Regions from separate parts of the Homo sapiens genome. Here all the other regions are linked to region 1. The links are contacts of gene promoters, found by promoter capture Hi-C in blood cells and fetal thymus (Javierre and others, 2016). All regions are on one chromosome and are shown on one strand. The core of a region is centred on a gene start or on the middle of the fragment in contact, and the rest is flanking DNA. Distances in the headings are between cores, read along the strand shown.

Region 1 (3,022 bases), core at 311-2,810:
AATGGCTCAAGAATTGGGTCAGACTATCTTGTCCTAACTTTTCTGATAAGTTTCAGAGAAACTCAAAGGTCAAAACAAGAGCATAAGAGTAAAAGGTAGAGAAATTAAGAAACTGAAGACTAGGAAATGGGGGTTGGATGGGAAAGAAAAAGAAATTGTTATTAATGCTACCCGGTTCCCTTCCCTGTCCAGGTGGATTTCAGCTCTGTTGAGGCTCTGTCAGTAGATTTTCAGCCCTAACCAGCACTTCCATGGTGGTGGCACTTCCACTGCCTTTAAAAGAAAGAGCTTTTTTTAATTCTACAGGGATTTGGGGGATGAGGAGTCAGAGCTAAGGTATCCTAAAAAAAACATGTGAAGACTCTCATTTTGCAATACACAAGCAATTGCCCTCCTGTTAAGACTTTGTCTTCCTCAGCACTCCGAACCAAAATGATTCTGTAAACAAAAATTGTTCACTTTTAGGAGAGGTCCACTTATGCAGTTCCTCACCAAAGTTTTTAGGCAACAAATCCATAACTTGCGGTTCTCTTCCTATCCAATGTAGCATCCGCTGAAATGTTTTAAATATTTTAAGTAATAAATGTTGATTCAAACTCACCTAGGAAGATTAGGAAGGGGAAAAAAAGCACTTGGCATTTAAATCTTCAGAAGAGAATTTAATGACAGGTTCAGCCTGTTTAATGACAAGCCCAGCACCACACCCCTCTCTTATGATGTTTCATTATTACTGCATAAATTTCCTTTATTACTCATGATAAATAAAAATAAGATACCTGACAAAGTGGGTTTAAATAGGTAAGAGTGCAAACAAAGATTTACTGTACAAATATGATGAAACTGGGATCTCAGATTCTTAAAGTATAATTTTTTTTTGTCTTATGTGTGCCAGGTTGCCACTCTCAATCTCGAACTAGTTTTTTTCTCTTTTAAGGGTTGTATCCATAATGCAAAAATGGAAAGAATTAAAAAGCACACGCAAAACATGATTCTCGGGATTTTTCTCTATTTTTATGGTTGACTAATTCAAACAGAAAGACACATCCAAGAGAAAATTGCTAAGTTTGATACAAGTTATGAAACTTGTGAAGCCCAAGTACTGCCTGGGGATGAATTTAACTTGTATGACAGGTGCAGAGCTGTCGCTTTCAGACATCTTAAGAAACACGGAGTTATTTTGAATGACTTTCTCTCGGTCACAAGGGAGCCACCAACGTCTCCACAGTGAAACCAACTGGCTGGCTGAAGGAACAGAAATCCTCTGCTCCGCCTACTGGGGATTAGGAGCTGAGGGCAGTGGTGAACATTCCCAAAATATTAGCCTTGGCTTTACTGGACATCCAGCGAGCAGTGCAGCCAGCATTCCTGGCGGCTCCCTGGCCCAGTCTCTGGCGCATGCGTCCTAGCATCTTTGGGCAGGCTTCCCCGCCCTCGTGACGCGTCGGCCCGGGCCTGGCCTCCCGGCGATCACAGCGGACAGGGGGCGGAGCCTAAGGGGGTGGGGAGACGCCGGCCCCTTGGCCCAGCTGAAAACGGAATTCTTTGCCGGCTGGCTCCCCACTCTGCCAGAGCGAGGCGGGGCAGTGAGGACTCCGCGACGCGTCCGCACCCTGCGGCCAGAGCGGCTTTGAGCTCGGCTGCGTCCGCGCTAGGCGCTTTTTCCCAGAAGCAATCCAGGCGCGCCCGCTGGTTCTTGAGCGCCAGGAAAAGCCCGGAGCTAACGACCGGCCGCTCGGCCACTGCACGGGGCCCCAAGCCGCAGAAGGACGACGGGAGGGTAATGAAGCTGAGCCCAGGTCTCCTAGGAAGGAGAGAGTGCGCCGGAGCAGCGTGGGAAAGAAGGGAAGAGTGTCGTTAAGTTTACGGCCAACGGTGGATTATCCGGGCCGCTGCGCGTCTGGGGGCTGCGGAATGCGCGAGGAGAACAAGGGCATGCCCAGTGGGGGCGGCAGCGATGAGGGTCTGGCCAGCGCCGCGGCGCGGGGACTAGTGGAGAAGGTGCGACAGCTCCTGGAAGCCGGCGCGGATCCCAACGGAGTCAACCGTTTCGGGAGGCGCGCGATCCAGGTAGCTGGGGCCCCAGGGCCTCGCCGGCAGGGGGCGCGCGAACGCGGGGCGCGGCCTCGGCGGATCGGGGCTGGAACCTAGATCGCCGATGTAGATTTGTACAGGAGTCTCCGTTGGCCGGAGGTGTGCATTCCACGCGTAAAACAGGCTTTTACCCAGCAAAAATCCTAAAGAGAGACATTGAAAAACCCACTGTTTAAGCTTTTTTTAGTGGTTTTTGTTCTGCCATCTCATGATCAGAGATGCAAGGAATAGACTGAATTGGGGAGAAAAGGAGAAAAGGAAAGCTTATTTAGGGAAGAAGATTATCTTGTCTGTCTGCTTTCAACGATAAAGATAAGTAAAGTATAAGTTACGCATTCTAGATTGGATTTAAGGAATTCTACAAAATCATAGTACATGGAAAAAATCAATGTAAACTTCTAAGCTACTATATGAAATCTGTTGTATTGTTTTCTCATAGAGGTTAATTGAGAATGAGACGGGATTCCTCAACCACAGTACTTAGTTCCTTTTATGTTAGCAGTGTCTTATGAGTGATGCATAAGAGAAAAAATATATAGTTCTATAGGTTTCTCATTCTTTAATTATCATACTCAGTGCCCAGATTACAAAAATATTCCTGCAGCAACTGTTAGGTCCTTTTTGAATGGCAAAGGATCTTCATAAATAATGCATCTTTATCTTCATTGTTAAAATACACTTATTCAATGTTTAAGTACGAATCCTGCTTTAATTAGTACTGATATTTTTTATTTCTTTTACAATCTCGGACAACTCTTTTGTACTTTACCGTTGGCTAGTGGTCATATTCAGTACTCACCTCACTATCACCCTCTAAAACTAAGCTAATATTAAGGGATCTTGTTAATAGTATAGATTTTAAAGAAGTGTTCATTTCTTTTGAATTCTTAGAATAATGGTATAACAAATGAGGGATTTTTAAAGGAGCAAA
Region 2 (2,755 bases), core at 214-2,713, 760 kb after region 1:
TCCAGTGTAGAAATCCCAGCGTGCTGTCCTCATTCACTCACCAGCAACCCGCACTGCCACTCGTACAGCTGCTTCCTGTTCCCTTGTGGTTTTTGGCTGTCAGTTTTCCCCTAAGAGCACAAAGTCATCAAATAAAAGCAAAAGTTAAGTGAGAGTTCTAGGTTTTTCATAAACATCCATATCAGAGGTCTTTTTTTTTCCCTCCTGGTGAAAAATTTTGGAAATGAATGAATACTTTTGTTAAAATGATGTAACTTTCTCTAAAGAAAAAGGAAATGTCAAGATTTATTCTACTCTGGAGGCTGTTCAGTTATTTACAGAGGATGACAGCCACCTACTGGCCATGATGACAAAGACATACACCAACTCTGTGGAGAGTCAGCTTTTCTTTTCTATAAAGAATTCTGTCCCTTTGCAGAATTTTCTTCATAGGTAAAAAGGACTCTTTCTCAGAAAGAGCTGAACCTTATATTGGAAGAAGCCCATTTCCTTCATTTTTTTTATCATAGAGAAGGAAAGTACTCCCAGCTTCAAGCAGGACATGTCCTTTGGGCAGTGGACAGCTATGTAGAGAGAGAAAGGGTAAGAATGTGTCCCTTGACTTCAGCCCCCTGACTCATCCCTCCTTTATGTATTGAGCTGCACTAGGATTCAGTACAGCCTGCCAATGTGGGTGTAGAACTGTAATGGACATCCATTAAAATCTCCTGTTTGAAGGTACATTAGCTCTTTCTTAATAGTAAGTTGCTAATTTTACAAATTCATTCCTTAGATCATGTCACTTACATTCATAATAAGGAGAACATTCTCTGTTATTTTCAATAATGACTCAACTTGCATCCCTTCTATTTTCACTCAGTAGTAAGAGAGAGAACAGAGATCTGTAAAGGGATCAGAAGATACAATTCTTGCCAAATGATACCCAGTAGAAGTATCAATTTGGGTAGAATTGGGGAAACATTAAAGTGATCTGTGAAATGGTGTATTTGAAGAAGTTAACCAGGAAGCATGTGTGAATTGCTAGGTTAGTAGGAAGAGGCTTCAACTTAGGACAGATTTCTCAATTCTTTGCTCAAGTTACAGACCCAACCTTTATATGGCTCTTTTGAAATGGAAGAGGAGAGAAATTGGGAAATTCAAAGTTATATTTTACAATATATTTGTTCTTTGCCTCTCTTTCATTAGCTACTGAGTGTGGGGGGCCCAGTTTAGGATCAGAAAGAAAACATTAACACTTTTGAATATACCTGGTTCTCTCTCCTCTGTCTCTTTGATGGTTTAACACCTTTCATATATTAAAAACCCTTTTATTCCTGACTACTTTTAAGCTTCTTATTTCTTTAATGTTATTTTTGTTTTTTGTTGCTTATCATTTCAGTGGGCAAAAATTGTATGATGTGGCTGCATATTGTCACCTTATCCTGAAAAATGTCTGTAACTATATCCTGAACATATCGAGAAGTTAATTTTTTATATATTCTAAAGTATTGGAGACCCAATGAAAGGAAGTGGCAGAGCTGGCAGAGAGGAGCCCTATTATAGCCTGCCTCATACAAGTCCCTGGACAGTTCCTCTGGTGAGGAACACATGGAAGCTTAGTCCCTGCCCTGACTCCATTGGAACAGATACAAGAGATCATGATACAGTACCACCTGGAGACAACGGGGCTTTGTGAGCTCACGAGGCCAAAGAATGTAACCACCCCTAGATTTCCCTTACCTGGCAAGCTCAGCACTGCAGAGGTCAAGGATGTTTTGCTGGGAACAGAAACACAGTAAATAGAGAGAGTCCTGCCCACAACACTACACCCAATGAGCGGGTAAAGAATACAGGAGCTCATTTGTGCCTCTTTTTAGGGACTTCCAACATTCTGATTCCGCTAGGAAGAGACTCCACCAGGCTCAGGACTCTCATTTGTTGAAAAAAGCAAAGCCCACATTATGAAACATGAAGACAGAGCCAGCAGCAGCTTTAGAATTTGGAAGGAGGAGAGAAGACTGGAAGGTCCTCAGAAAATGGAGTAGCAATGGAAGCACTGAGTCAACTGTTCAGAATATTCAAATCAGAGGGAGAGAAGATTGAAGTGGATGCTGAGAGCATACAGTGCTCCCGTGGAGACATGGCCAACACTGTCCCCTGCATGGGTGACACTGATACTACAGCAGCCTGTAGAGTATTGGAAGGGACAGGGTTACTTCAGTGTCAGCTGCAAACTCCTGTTTCCTCCCTAGTACCCATCAAGTTCTCACACTACAGGCAAACTTATTTATGGGGCCAATGCAATTCAAGGCATCTCTTAAATTCTAGTCATAATGCAGCCTCCTTAAAGGCAGTAAAAAATGAAACAATGCCTGAACAGAAGGGACACAGCAGGTATTTGAGTACATTTCAATTGGGCCAGAGACTTCCCAGCAGGACAGATATCAATAATGCATGTATTGAAGAATCACAACTTCTTCTCTTTTTTTTGTATTCTTTTGTTTGTTTTTTGTTTGTTTGTTTGAGATGGAGTCTTGCTCTGTCACCAGGCTGGAGTGCAGTCGTGCGATCTCAGCTCACTGCAATCTCCTCCTCCCAGGTTCAAGCGATTCTCCTGCCTCAGCCTCCCGAGTAAGTGGGATTACAAGCATGCACCACCACACCCAGCTAATTTTTGTATTTTTAGTAGAGACAGGGTTTCACCATATTGGCCATGAAGATCTTGATCTCCTGACCTCGTGATCCACCTGCCTCGGCCTCCCAAAGTGCTGGAATT
Region 3 (2,774 bases), core at 228-2,727, 610 kb after region 1:
AGCAGCTGACGGTGGAAACGGATGTCTCCTGTCTTCTGGATTTGGGTGATAGTTCCTCGTTTCCTAGAAAACTTGAAGTGGGTTCTGTCATTAGGCATGATTGAGAGGGGATACTTTTCAGCTGTGTGAATAGCACTGAGGTTTCCTCCTGCCTTCCTTGTTTTCTAGCCATGGCTCCAAGACTTGTCCCTGCCAAGTGAGCAGGCAGCGCTGGAGATGAGCATGATGACTCCCGCCATTACCAGGGAGGTGTAGGCCACTGTGATTTCAGAGATTCACTAGCCGGCCTCGAAGGGGCGCGGGCCCGCTGCGCAAAGAGCGCAAAGCTCCCAGCGCTGCGCACCACGGCCGCAGCAAGGCGCCAGAATGGGTTTTCCTGATGCCCAGGATTTGGGAACCGCGGGTTTGAGTTTCGGGGCGTCCCGCAGCCCCAGGGAAACGTCGTCGCGGCTTATCGCGCCAACTTTGTGCAGCTTCGACCTGAGTAAAAAAATCTCTTTTGCTGCTCAGGAGGCAGCTCCGCCGTGGTCTCCCTTGAGACATCTTCCTCAGGTAGCCAGCAGGGCACCTTTTATTTTCGGGATTTTCCCCTGGGTTTGGGGCTTTTATTTCCCATAGAGACTTCAGCGAGACTTGTTTTTACAGAGGGACCCGTTGATTCCGGGACTTGAGGGCTCGAGATCGCACGGGTTTAATCTTGGGGATTCCGTTTGTGTGGGGGCGCAGGGCGGGGACGTCTTGGGGAAGGGGACACGCTGGACCCTGGGGCGAGCGGACGGGTCCTGGGAGCGCCCGGGGCTGGGGACGCCGCGCACCGGGCCAGGAGCAGAGAGGCGCCCGTGCCTGCCCCAGGGTGTGCCAGGAGCTAAGCTTTCAGCTTCAGACGCCAGTGTCGCTGAAACCATAATTCAGGTATGTTAAAACTCAACAGCATTATTTTAAATACTTTATACCAAAACAAGAATGTTGTGATCTTACTTCCCTAGCTTTAAAGGAAGCAAACTCAGCAATGCTTTCAAGATCCCTACTTTGTTTTATCTGGGAGAAGTGCCATGTCTGACATTTCCAGTGACTCAGTGACACTGAGATAATTTTATTTAACTTTGGTTTACTGAAAGCCCTTCCTCAAGACCCCACCTTGACTTGTGTTGCTGAAAAGAGAAATGAGCAGTGTTGCCTACAAAGAGTAGAGGAGCAGGTCAGAACTTTTTATTTTCTAGGGTAAGAATTTTATAGCCTGAGTGGAGTTTGCCATAATTTGTTACACTGGCCCCTCTCCTTTGTAAGACCCTCAGGGTCATCTTACATTTCCTGCCTTTACTTAATTAAAATTTTGATATTTGCCTCATCATGGATGTTTAGGCATTAATTTCCAATTTTAATATTGTATTAAAATAGTATTTGAGTTGATAATTTAAGTATATATTTTAAATATATAAAGGATATATATTTTTATATTGATCTATTTTATATGTGTGTTTCTGTACATTTAAATACTTACGTATACATATTTATATATTTCAGCATATACTTTATATAAAATTATAACATATGTATATATTTATATATTTAAATACCCATAATATATAAAATGTAAGTATATATTCTACATATACTTACATATATATATAGATATAGAGTTATAAACTAAAACTAAAAATAAAATACTAAGCCACCCATTGGCTGAACATGCCCCCTTTTGGCCAATGGAACCCCTAAAAACCTTAACTGAATTCTCAACCATGATGGGAAGCAGGATGGACACGCCTCATTATATCCCCCTCCGTTTTGGAGTATGGACACAAACTGGCCAGCATTGATGTTATAAGAGAGATAATAAGACAAAACAGACTTTGTGGCAATAAGATACCAAATTATAAGCAAGACCTAAGGCCATGCAAGGCGAGAGTTATGTACTGCAAACCATAAAATCTCCTTAAATGGATTTTTAAAAATTAACCCAGTAAAATGTGGCTCACTTTCTAACCTAACTCTCATATAATACCATATGGCAGATTGCAGACCCATTTATCTTAATTTAAGCATTCTTTTCTAATGACTTCAAGTCTTTAGACAAAGCTTAACTGTTTCAACCAATTGCCAGCTAAAGAATCCCTGAAACCCACCTGTGACTTTTAAATCCCCACTTTGAGATGTCTTGCCTTTTCTGGCCAAACCACTGTATACCTTCCATGTATTGATTTATGATTTTACCTGCAATTCGTATCTCCCTGAAATGTCTAAAACCAAATTATAACCCAACCACCTTGGGTGCACTTTTTCAGGACCTCTTAAAACTGTTTCTCCAGGATATGGTCACTCATATTGGCTCAGAATAAACTTCTTTAAAATATTTTCCAGTCTTACAGACAATTTCCTCTCCTAGAGTTTCCATTTAGGAGGCGCCAATGTGCAAGACCCTGAGAGTGTCAGGGGAGCTGCAATCAAAGCTTTTCTTGGATGGACTTGGTTGAATATGGACTATACAGATTATAAATACATGGTTGTATGTATATATATATTTTTTCTATATAGTTCACAAATGCAAACTATATAGATTATACTAAAGGTTACTATCTGTATTAGTCTGTTCTCATGCTGCTACTAAAGACATACCCAAGACTGAGTAATTTATAAAGGAAAGAGGTTTAATTGACTCACAGTTCCACATGGCTGGGGAGGCCTCACAATCATGGCGGAAGGTGAATGAGGAGCAAAGTCATGTCTTACATGGTGGCAGGCAAGAGAGAGCTTGTGCAGGGAGGAGAACCCCC
Region 4 (2,866 bases), core at 232-2,731, 670 kb after region 1:
TTCAGTATTTTTGCACAATTAGCATCCCTGGTGTACGAAGAATGTGATAAATGAGCTCTCTGAGCAGTCATCTACACTCTCTCTGAAGAGTATTTGGATTTTATTTATCCACATTAATAAAGAGAGCCCATTTGTTTGAAAGAAAGAAGTAGGATTTCAAACGCATTTTCCATAAGTTTTAGATGTTCTCAATTGTCTGGCAATAGGAGAAATGTAAAGGAAAATAACAGTTATATGTAAACAAAATCGAGAAAGTTGCATCATAGGGAATATAGCTAACATCTACATAAAGGGTTTATATATACTTTTAAGAGGGGCGTATAAAAGCATAATTCATAAGAACAATAAAAACTACAATTAATGCCATAAAATGAAATCTAAATAGAATTAAGAACAGCAAGTGAAGCAAATGGAAAGGCATTATAGCCCACTAGTACTCAAAAACTATTAAACAATTATTCTTGAAATTTTAGATTATTAAATAAGCAGTAAGACAATATAGCCTATGAAATAAAGTATTAATTTTATATGCTTTGTGCCATTATATCCATTCCCTGAAATCAATCCTAAATAAAAGTTTGTAAAAAGGTTACAAAATTATATCCGATAATACAAACACACATTTTTCTCCAGGTACTACCTTCTTGCTCTTCTTCCACTCACAGATAAACTTCTAAAAGAAGTTTCCATCCACTGTGTCTCCAACCTCTCCTGCTATTTACTCTAGTCAATATATTCCAATCTGGATTTTGCCAAATTAATTCTGGCAAACCAGTCCTTTCTTTTCCTAAATGTAAAACGTCATGTTTTAAACACATTTCTTCCCTTAAACACCCTCTTATCACAATTTTCTCCTGGTTGTCCTCCTATTTTGCTCCTGGATGTCCTCCTATCATTTCATTCACATGCCCTTTTCAGGTTCCTCACTCTGTTCACTACATTAAGATGTAAAGGTCCTCAAGATCCAGGTTTTGGTCTTCTGATTCACTACTCAATTTCTACCAGACCTCATCCATCCTTGGGCCTTCAGGAAAAAGGTATAGCCCAGCTCCCAAATGAACATCTCTAGCCATGCACTCTAAATCCCAGAACTGTGTATCCAATTTTCAAGGCTTAAAGTCTTCCAGTTTCTGATGACAAAAACCACTTTTCTTTTGCCTATGGTTTGAGTTTATGATAGAGTTGAAATTAATTAATTGGTTAATAGTTTTATTTCTCCCTCAGCAAAAAGTTTCAAGAGGGCTGAAGCTGTGTTTCCTTTATTCACTTTTCTATCCTGAAAAGTCACATATCAAGTGTTTCATACAGTGTGAATGGAATGAATGAACTGAACTTCACTTGAGGTTGCAAAACCAACCTTGGCATTGATTTATTGAGTAAGGCCAGGTATGGTGGCTCATGCCAGTAATCCCAGCAGTGTGGGAGGCTGAGGTGGGAGGATTGTTGAGGCTAGGAGTTTGAGGCTGTAGTGAGCTATGAACCTGCCACTGCACTCCAGCTTAGTGACAGAGCAAGACCTTGTGTTTGTTTTTTTTAAATAAACAAATGCAAAATGATCTGAAAGTAAAACTCGAAATAATAAAGAGAATAATTTTCAAAATATAAAGTGAGGGGCCAGGCATGGTGGCTCACGCCTGTAATCCCAGCACTTTGGGAGGCTGAGGCAGGCGGATCACAAGGTCAGGAGTTTGAGAGCAGACTGGCCAGCATGGTGAAACTCTATCTCTACTAAAAATACAAAAAATTAGCTGGGCATGGTGGCGCGCACCTGTAGTCCCAGCTACTCGGGACGCTAAGGCAGGAGAATTGCTTGACCCTGGGAGGCGGAGGTTGCAGTGAGCCGAGATCGCACCACTGTACTCCAGCCTGGGTGACAGAGCGAGACTCCGTCAAAACAAAACAAAACAAAACAAACAAACAAAATATACATAAAGTGAACACTTTTTAATGTAATTAGCACAGTGTTAAAAGTGAACATTTCATACAAGCAAAAATACTGAATACAATAAATGTAGTAGAATCAATAATTAAGTACATGGGTAAATTAATAATATCATCCATGGTGAGCTAATGCCCCTAAGAACTGGATGCTTTATCATACAGTTGCTTGACATTACCAACAAGTATTGTGACAAATTTGATTCAATCATTTCATTATGCAGGCAGAAAAGATAGTCTTTTAAAATAACTAAACATATGGGAATATAATGAAGAGTGTCTATAGTAATCATTTCATGAAGACACAAGTCTGTTCCTAAGCTATTAATCTTACTTGCAAGTTTGATGAAAAAAAGAAGGATCTCATGATTTCTTGCTCCAACTTCCCATGTACAGAGGCTCTCTTCTTTCTTTTCCAGATAGAGACTGATTCCTTGGAAGTAGCTCTTCACAGCATTAGGGAGTTGTCATGGCCTGAGAGAGCCCTTCCACCCCTAACTCATTCAACAAGCAGGGCTCCAGGACTTCCCAATGCTGATAAAAATTCAGTGAATAATTTCTCCAGGCCAGTTTCATTCCAACCAACCTCTTGTGTTGAATAAGGTGACAATCTGCTGGAGCACCTTGTGGAGGACAGTGGTAGTCTAAGCCTTCTGAATTTTGCTGCCATCCCTTGGAAACAATAGAAAACATTCAAAACAGATGAACTGCCCATCAACAGGGCACTGGTTAAATAACTTATGATGTAACAACTCAGAAGGCAACAACAGAATTGTTTAAAAATATAAATAAGCCCTCTACACTAATTCAGGAAGATCTTGAAGTGAAAAAAAAAGATGCAGAACAGTGTACATGGTATGCTATCTTTTACATAAAAACGAGGCGAGTGTAAGAAAAACATGACTACATTCTTACTTTGCATATGCAT
Region 5 (2,888 bases), core at 373-2,872, 690 kb after region 1:
TTCCGATGAGCCTATTAACACAGAGAAAGCATTTATTGATTTTCCTTTCTTAATCTGCAGTCTGACAATGTCCCAGGCACAACAGATGTGTTCTTTCTTTCTCACATAGAGACTGATTGCTTGTGAATACTCCTTCACAGCCAGGCTGGAGTCCTCCTACTCAAGGTCTCTTTGATTTCCTATACCCAAACAGGTCTCCAGAAATTCTAGCTACTGATCAAGCCCAGTGAGGAATTTCAGTTCTTTGTGCTGAAAACGTTGGAGATCTGCTGGATCATCTCATGAAGAACATTGGTGGCCTGAGCCTTTTGGAATTTGGTGCCATGCGGCTGCTCTAGGGGAAACTTAAAAAACATTCTTGTTCTTCAGACAGGAAGAAAAGAAAGATTCTCCCAATTTGGTGCAGAACTTTGAAGGTCACCTATTTATGGCAGCCCATGGCTCTGGGCTAGGCCACAGCTAAAGCTGCAGAGAGAACTGCAGAATATCATCCTCAGTGTCACTAGGGAAGAGGTTGGCCGGGTCATTGGTGGGATACAGCTGGCTAGGCCATTTGAGTCTTTACCCACCTGTCTCAGCACTTTCTTGTTGTGAGATTCTTACATAACCAGATTAGGGTTTTCAGTTTTTGTACTTATCTCAACTTTATTTCTACTTTGTTCACTTTCTCTTCTATTTATGGGTCTCAGATAATGTCATGACCTCAACACTTCTTTTGTATTATGACAATGGAAATTAAACACACTCAGAAAATGGCAAAACTCTCAATCTAATAGGAAATACCCATCCAAATGAGGCTCAATGTTGAAATAACAACCTATCTGAGTCTCAATCTATGTCTCTTTTAAAATTCTAATAAGTATACTTAGAGGTTTGATCTTGGACATTTTTACTTCTTAAACTGCACTGAAATACATGTTTCCTCACCTCTCTGCATTTCTCTTTTAAGTGGCTAATACACTAGGTTTGATTTCTTCCACCTTTCTTTACAAGAGCCACAGCTTATAATCTGTAGATAACGGTGGCATAAAACTCGAAAACCCAGGGTTAAGTCATCCAGTTGTCTTTGTTCTGTCACTAAAAATGTCTTTACTGCATATATGTGACAGACAATAGGCTTGGCAATTTAGATTAACAGATAAGTAATACAGGATGATGACTACCCTCCATGGATTCAAAGAATGGCATTTAAGACATGATTGTGATTAATTAAACACTAGCATGCTCAGTGCAGCCAAGAGGAAGAACTGAAAGCTAATGAAGAGGGAAATTGGGAGGCAGTAGAAACTGCCACTTTGTGACAACATCTGTGGCTCCTGGGAGCTTAAACAACATCAGATTTTCCTTTCCTCTTCTGCAAAATTGAGACAATTTTAATAGTTGTCACATAGGAAACTGCAAAGATGAAATAAAATAAAGTTTGCAAATTACTGGCTGAGAATCTGAACATGGTAAATGATAGTTACCTTTAATTTCAATGTAATAAATAACATAATCCTGTATAGTCCACATTTAACCAAATCCAGACAAGAGAAGCTTTGATTGCAGCTCCCCTGACATTCCTGAGGTCTAACACGTTGATGTCCCTCAAATTGAAACTCTAGGAAAGGGGACTGTCTGTAAAACTGTGAAGGAGCAGAGCCCAGGTTCCCATTGTCAGAGTAGTGCCTTGCACAGAGGAAAAATTGTACAGCCCCCATGAAGCTTGTTCCAGGGAACCAGTGTCTCAGCAAGTTGCGATAGAAAATGGCTGCTCTGTGAATAGTATAAATAAATAAAATAATCCCTTTACTCAGATTCAGTTAGTTTCAAATCACCATTGATGATTATTTTTAGGCCCAAGTAAAACATATTTTGTAAACCATTTTCCTAGCCTTTACAACTCTCTAACTCAACCCTAAAAAAAAAAAGGTGATTTGAAACTAACTGAATATAGTATTATATAAAGTTACCTATAGATATATACAGAATATACACTTACATATTTATATATACATATTTAAATACAAATAAATAAGTAAATATTGTAATGTATTTAATAACATACAATATATGTTATATGCTATATTGTATATGTGTATATATAACATATCGTATATATGTTATTCTATATAAAGTATATATTGAAGTATATATATTAAAATATATAAATGTATACATATTTTTACACATTATATTTACATATGGATTTTTAAATGTACAAAAACATATATAAGATATATAAATATATATTCTTTTTTTTTTGACAAAAGTCTCACTCTTTTGTTCAGGCTGGACTGCAGTGCTGCTGTCATACCTCACTACATCCTCGAACTCCTGGGCCCAAGTGATCCTCCCACCTTGGCCTCCCAAATAGCTGAGACTATAGGTGTGCACTACCACACCTGGCTAATTTTTTATTTTTTGGTAGAGATGGTGTCTCCTTCTGTTGACCAGGCTGGTAAATCCTGGCCTCAAGCAATCTTCCTGCCTTGGCCTTCCAAAGTACTGGCATTATAGACCTGAGCCACCACGCCAGGCCTATATATTCTTTATGTATATTTAAATACATATGCTTAAATTATGTATACTTATATATTTAATAATATACAAATTTAATATATTTTAATATGTTAAGTATAATATAATAAGCATATATTAAATTATATGAGATTGTAAAAGTATATAATACTTAAAGCTGTATATACTTAAGTATACATAATTATATTTACACATATTAATTACAAAATACATAATCTAAAAATGTAATGTATATTAATATAAGTATATAAACTTATTTTATGTTACATAAAATTTAAGTATATACAAGCATATATATACATATATATATTTCTGGAGGGAGGGGGATTGGAAATGGGACTACCTTGATTTTCAGCCATGGAAAAATC
Region 6 (2,999 bases), core at 68-2,567, 620 kb after region 1:
CACTGATGAATTTTGCCAAATATTTAAAAAACTAATACCAATCCAACTCAAATTATTAAAAAAATAGAGGTGGACAGAATCTTTCCAAATGTATTCTATGAGGCCAGTGTTTTTTCTGATTGAATCTCCCATTATATTTTAATCACATATAAAACCAGAGAAAGACACATTAAAAAGAAAGAAAACTGTAGGCCAATATCTCTGATGAACATTGATGCAGAAATCCTCAACAACAAATTAGCAAACTGAATTCAAGAACACATTAAAACAATCATTCATCATGACCAAGTGGAATTTGTCCTAGAGATTCAAGTGTGGTTAGGTATGTGCAGATCAATGGGTTTAATGTTGTCCAATGAACATAATGTCCTCCAGCTCCATCCATGTTCTTGCAAATGACAGGATCTCATTCTTTTTTATGGCTAAGTAGTACTCCATTGTGTATAAGTGCCATATTTTCTTTATCCATTCATCTGTTAGACACCTAAGTTGCTTCCAAATCTTAGCTATTGTGAATAGTGCTGCAATAAACATGGGAGTGTAAATATTTTGTTGACATACTGATTTCATTTCCTTTGGATAAATACCCAGTAGTGGGATTGCTGGATCATATGGGGGAAAATGGAGATGGCTAACGGGCACAAAAATATAGTTAGAAAAAATGAATATGATTTAGTATTCGATAGCACAATAGGATGACTACTGTTAATGATAATTTATTATATATTATAAAATAACTAAAATAGTATAAATGGGATGTATGTAGCAGAGAGAAATGATAAATGTTTGAAGCATTGGATACTCCATTCACCCTGCTGTGATTATTATGAATTGTCTGCCTATATAAAAATATTTCACTTATTCCATAAACACAGACGCCTCTTATGTACCCACAAAAATCTATTTTCAAAAAAGTTGCTCTAAGAATATAGTTATCAAGTTAAGTAAAATGTCAATAGCCTTTTAATTTAATTTTTAATTGTTTTATCATTCTTTGCAATAATAAAACATTAACTTTATACTTTTTAATTTAATGTATAGAATAGAGATATACATAGGATATGTAAATAGATACACAGTGTATATGTGATTAAAATATAATGGGAGATTCAATCAGAAAAAAGTTTCTAAAAAGGCTCTGGGGTAAAAGAGGAAGGAAACAATAATGAAAAAAATGTGGTGAGAAAAACAGCTGAAAACCCATGTAAAGAGTGCATAAAGAAAGCAAAAAGAGAAGTAGAAAGTAACACAGGGGCATTTGGAAAATGTAAACGAGTATGTTCCCTATTTAAGGCTAGGCACAAAGCAAGGTCTTCAGAGAACCTGGAGCCTAAGGTTTAGGCTCACCCATTTCAACCAGTCTAGCAGCATCTGCAACATCTACAATGGCCTTGACCTTTGCTTTACTGGTGGCCCTCCTGGTGCTCAGCTGCAAGTCAAGCTGCTCTGTGGGCTGTGATCTGCCTCAAACCCACAGCCTGGGTAGCAGGAGGACCTTGATGCTCCTGGCACAGATGAGGAGAATCTCTCTTTTCTCCTGCTTGAAGGACAGACATGACTTTGGATTTCCCCAGGAGGAGTTTGGCAACCAGTTCCAAAAGGCTGAAACCATCCCTGTCCTCCATGAGATGATCCAGCAGATCTTCAATCTCTTCAGCACAAAGGACTCATCTGCTGCTTGGGATGAGACCCTCCTAGACAAATTCTACACTGAACTCTACCAGCAGCTGAATGACCTGGAAGCCTGTGTGATACAGGGGGTGGGGGTGACAGAGACTCCCCTGATGAAGGAGGACTCCATTCTGGCTGTGAGGAAATACTTCCAAAGAATCACTCTCTATCTGAAAGAGAAGAAATACAGCCCTTGTGCCTGGGAGGTTGTCAGAGCAGAAATCATGAGATCTTTTTCTTTGTCAACAAACTTGCAAGAAAGTTTAAGAAGTAAGGAATGAAAACTGGTTCAACATGGAAATGATTTTCATTGATTCGTATGCCAGCTCACCTTTTTATGATCTGCCATTTCAAAGACTCATGTTTCTGCTATGACCATGACACGATTTAAATCTTTTCAAATGTTTTTAGGAGTATTAATCAACATTGTATTCAGCTCTTAAGGCACTAGTCCCTTACAGAGGACCATGCTGACTGATCCATTATCTATTTAAATATTTTTAAAATATTATTTATTTAACTATTTATAAAACAACTTATTTTTGTTCATATTATGTCATGTGCACCTTTGCACAGTGGTTAATGTAATAAAATATGTTCTTTGTATTTGGTAAATTTATTTTGTGTTGTTCATTGAACTTTTGCTATGGAAACTTTTGTACTTGTTTATTCTTTAAAATGAAATTCCAAGCCTAATTGTGCAACCTGATTACAGAATAACTGGTACACTTCATTTATCCATCAATATTATATTCAAGATATAAGTAAAAATAAACTTTCTGTAAACCAGGTTGTATGTTGTACTCAAGATAACAAGGTGAACCTAACAAATACAATTCTGCTCTCTTGTGTATTTGATTTTTGTATGAAAAAAACTAAAAATGGTAATCATACTTAATTATCAGTTATGGTAAATGGTATGAAGAGAAGAAGGAACAACCGATGATTTCTCTCTGCAGAAGGTAGATTGAGGCATGTGAGGAAATAAAAATAAGACAGAGACATTCTCTTTAAATTGACTAGTATACATCTATTAGAAAATGTCCATTGCCAGTTAGATATATAAGTTTGCAATTTGCAAGGAATGCGATTGCTGGGGGTTTATATGTGATAAGAGAAAGCCAAGAAATGAAGGTCATGGTGTTGGGAGAGAGTGTAGAGAGAGAAAAAGTTTTAAACATGATTCTGAGGACCTTTCGCTTTTAAAGGGAGGGGAGAGAAAAGCCGCAAAGGAAACATCCACAGCCACAAAGGAATGGCTGTACATTAGAAGGCAACAGCAGAGAAAGATAATGAAAGTGTATTTAGGAAGATAAATGCTTCAGCCC
Region 7 (3,006 bases), core at 386-2,885, 740 kb after region 1:
TTACACTGTTGGTGGGAGTGTAAATTAGGTCAAACATTGTGGAAGACAGTGTGGGGATTCCTCAAGGACCTAGAACCAGAAATACCATTTGACCCAGCAATCCCGTTACTGGGTATATACCCAAAGGATTATAAATCATTCTACTATAAAGACACATGCACACATACGTTTATTGCAACACTGTTCACAATAGCAAAGGCTTGGAACCAACCCAAACGCCCATCAATGATAGACTGCATAAAGAAAATGTGGCACCTATACACCATGGAATACTATGCAGCCATAAAAAGGATGAGTTCATGTCTTTTACAGGGACATGGATGAAGCTGGAAACCATCATTCTCAGCAAATTAACACAGGAACAGAAAACCAAACACCACATGTTGTCACTCATAAATAGGAGTTGAACAATGAGAACACGTGGACGCAGGAAGGGAAACATCACACACTGGAGCCTGTTGGGGGTGGGGGCTAGGGGAAGGATAGCATTAGGAGAAATACCTAATGGAGACGACGAGTTGATGGGTGCAGCAAATCACCATGGCCCATGTATACCTATGTAACAAACCTGCACATTCTGCACATGTATCCCAGAACTTAAAGTATAATAATAAAAAACAAAACAAAACAAAACATAGGGCCCAGGCGCGGTGGCTCACGCCTGCAATCCCAGCATTTTGGGAGGCCGAGGTGGGCGGATCATGAGGTCAGGAGATCGAGACCATCCTGGCTAACGCAGTGAAACCCCTTCTCTACTAAAAATACAAAAAAATTAGCCGGGCGTAGTGGCGGGTTTCTGTAGTCCCAGCTACTTGGGAGGCTGAGGCAGGAGAATGGCGTGAACCCTGGAAGCGGAGCTTGCAGTGAGCCCAGATAGCGTCACTGCACTCCAGCCTGGGTGACAGAGTGAGACTCTGCCTCAAAAAATAAGTAAATAATAAATAAAAATACAAAATAAAATAAAAGATTGGTCAAAATCAGCCGAAAATACAACATGAACCAAGGATATACAGAGAGCAGGAGAGAGTTGTGTATAATCCAGGAATCAAAAGAGAGTTAAAATTATTGCAGAAATTCCCAATACAAAGCTTACACATTAGTTGTAAATAACAATAAAAAATTTAACATTGAAATTTCACTCTGTTTGCATGTATGTGTGATGTTGAAAAAAAGCACTTAATATCTCTGAGCCTCAGTTTCTTATAAATAGAAAGGATTAGAAATACTTACATAGTTGTTGTGATTCTTAAATGAACGCAGGCAGTTGAAAGCAGTTTGCATAGTATTCTCCATAGTGTAAGGATTTAACACATGGCAAGTATTTTTCTATTTTTCTTCACACAGTTGTAGATGAGAATATTATTTGTCTTTCTACAAAATTCATAAGAATTGTGTCCTACCATTCAGTAACTGACTTTCAATGGAGACAGCGTTAAAAAAAAAAAAAAAACAGTATTCTGTCATGAATTCTAGAAAGGTTAAAAATTTGTCGCTCCTCATTTCAAAGAAGTGTCCTATTTGCATTCAGTCAGGAAATGTTGGTTTGTATGAATACCTGAAAGAAAAGAAGCAGCATGTAGATTGAAATGCAGAAGACACATAATGCCTATTAACTGATTCTGGCACCTGGCACGTTCCTTTTCTGGCTCTCAGAATTCCAGCATACGCTCCCATATGAAGTTAGTCTCCTAAACTAAGTGAAATATACATAGTAGCCTTTGCTGGTTCTGAGACCTGGTCCACTTCCCCATTTCCTCTCTGCTTTTCTGGATCCCATTTTTCACTCCCATATCACATTAGATTCCTTTCTCTTCCTCTAGAAATTCCCACTGTGCTCTCCTCTTCACTCTTCATTAGCCTGCAGTGCCTATTCACACAGCTGATTTCTGTTCTCTTGTGGGGTTTGCCCATCACTTTCCCCTTATGAATACAAAACTGCAAATTAAAGCCGACCTTGAGTGAAAGTTCTAGTTTTTTCAGACACTCTTATATAACAGGCTGTTTTTCTTTTCTTAGGAATATTTCTGGAAAAAGAGGGAATGTCCCTTTTATAATGATGTAACAGTAGCTTTGCAAAGGGGAAATAAAAGGCAGGTTCTGTGGAGTCTTAATTCGGAAAAAAGAGTAGGGCTGGTGGGAGCAGGAGAAAGCAAAAAGAGGAAGCAGGTAGAAAACAAGCTTGCTTTTCTTTATAGTCTGGGACACACAGTCCTCCTGCTCAAATCATTCATAATATTTCTGTACCCAGCTATCAGTAGACATCTGCAAGTTAGCTCACTGCAACCTTTGTGTTATCAATACCACACAAAGCCCTCTTCAACAGACAGCATAGATTTTATCCTATAAAATCTCCAGCAAGCCTTTCTCTCCTGGCAGTCAGCTTCTCTTCCACTGGCTGCCTGTTGTCTCTCTGGCAACATATTTTCCTAATAAATTTTCTGCCTTCCTTTACCTACAACTGTCTTGGTAAATCCTTTGAGCCCCATGCCACCAGCACTCAGTCTTCCACAATAGGCTCCATTTTACTCTGAGGCTGTTAAAACATTTACAGGAAAAGAGAGCCACCGATGACCAAAATGCACCAAGACAGCGGCCAAGTCTGTGAGGAGCAGCTTTTCTGCTTATGCAGAAGTGTGTCCCTGGCAGGAGATTTCATTTCAGAGTTAAAAAGAGGCTCTTTCCTGTCAGGAACTGACCCCAGTATGGGAATAAGCACTTTTTCTTAATGTTTGTATCTTAGAGAAAATACTCCCAGCCTCAGGCACATTTTAACTTTTTTTGGCAATGGATGGCTATGTGGGGAAAAAAGGGTCAGGATGTGTTCCTTACCTCCAGCCTGGCCAGCCTCCAAGGGCCTCCTGTTCCATCCCTCCCTCTATGTATTCTGTTATATAAGGAATCAGTACAGCCAGCCAATCTGGGTGCAGAACTCCAATGGAAATCAGGAAAAAAAATCTCATTTGAAGGCACATTAGCTCTTTCTTACAAGTAAGTTGTCAGTTTTAG

What was found. Contacts are between HindIII fragments. The CHiCAGO score rates a contact against its expected background, and 5 or more counts as called.
Region 2: a contact is called between a fragment that was not itself captured here and the fragment with the promoter of CDKN2B in region 1, in 2 of 17 cell types (fetal thymus and total CD4 T cells). The highest score is 7.7, in fetal thymus.
Region 3: a contact is called between a fragment that was not itself captured here and the fragment with the promoter of CDKN2B in region 1, in 1 of 17 cell types (total B cells). The highest score is 5.1, in total B cells.
Region 4: a contact is called between a fragment that was not itself captured here and the fragment with the promoter of CDKN2B in region 1, in 2 of 17 cell types (activated CD4 T cells and total B cells). The highest score is 7.3, in activated CD4 T cells.
Region 5: a fragment that was not itself captured here is called in contact with the fragment with the promoter of CDKN2B in region 1 in 8 of 17 cell types (activated CD4 T cells, naive CD8 T cells, total CD8 T cells and 5 more); the score reaches 10.3 in activated CD4 T cells.
Region 6: the fragment with the promoter of IFNA2 here is called in contact with the fragment with the promoter of CDKN2B in region 1 in 9 of 17 cell types (total CD4 T cells, activated CD4 T cells, naive CD8 T cells and 6 more); the score reaches 15.7 in total CD4 T cells.
Region 7: a fragment that was not itself captured here is called in contact with the fragment with the promoter of CDKN2B in region 1 in 1 of 17 cell types (M2 macrophages); the score reaches 7.3 in M2 macrophages.

Annotation. Positions count from the first base shown.
Region 1 is chr9:22,007,843-22,010,864 of GRCh38, reverse strand. CDKN2B (cyclin dependent kinase inhibitor 2B) reads left to right here and starts at 1,560. Exons shown (of 2, transcript NM_004936.4): 1 at 1,560-2,067. The coding sequence starts at 1,912. The region is part of intron 1 of CDKN2B-AS1 (CDKN2B and CDKN2A antisense cis and trans regulatory RNA 1); the gene reads right to left. RefSeq lists a silencer at 2,019-2,218. The HindIII fragment of the contact is 2,577 bases long and covers 1-2,270 here.
Region 2 is chr9:21,250,764-21,253,518 of GRCh38, reverse strand. No RefSeq gene overlaps it. Among named protein-coding and RNA genes, the nearest start is that of IFNA14, 12 kb to the right of the region's middle. The HindIII fragment of the contact is 266 bases long and covers 1,331-1,596 here.
Region 3 is chr9:21,400,569-21,403,342 of GRCh38, reverse strand. It overlaps the pseudogene IFNA12P. Among named protein-coding and RNA genes, the nearest start is that of IFNA8, 7.2 kb to the left of the region's middle. The HindIII fragment of the contact is 1,209 bases long and covers 873-2,081 here.
Region 4 is chr9:21,336,365-21,339,230 of GRCh38, reverse strand. LOC107987053 (a long non-coding RNA gene) reads right to left here. Exons shown (of 3, transcript XR_001746634.2): 3 at 1,930-2,610. Among named protein-coding and RNA genes, the nearest start is that of KLHL9, 2.4 kb to the right of the region's middle. The HindIII fragment of the contact is 4,111 bases long and covers 1-2,866 here.
Region 5 is chr9:21,318,939-21,321,826 of GRCh38, reverse strand. The region is part of intron 2 of LOC107987053 (a long non-coding RNA gene); the gene reads right to left. It also overlaps the pseudogene IFNA20P. Among named protein-coding and RNA genes, the nearest start is that of KLHL9, 15 kb to the left of the region's middle. The HindIII fragment of the contact is 168 bases long and covers 1,539-1,706 here.
Region 6 is chr9:21,383,716-21,386,714 of GRCh38, reverse strand. It overlaps IFNA2 (interferon alpha 2), which reads left to right and starts at 1,317. Exons shown (of 1, transcript NM_000605.4): 1 at 1,317-2,460. The coding sequence starts at 1,386. The coding sequence ends at 1,952. The HindIII fragment of the contact is 9,842 bases long and covers 1-2,999 here.
Region 7 is chr9:21,267,181-21,270,186 of GRCh38, reverse strand. It overlaps LOC107987053 (a long non-coding RNA gene), which reads right to left and starts at 2,598. Exons shown (of 3, transcript XR_001746634.2): 1 at 2,453-2,598; 2 at 1,231-1,555. The HindIII fragment of the contact is 1,090 bases long and covers 1,091-2,180 here.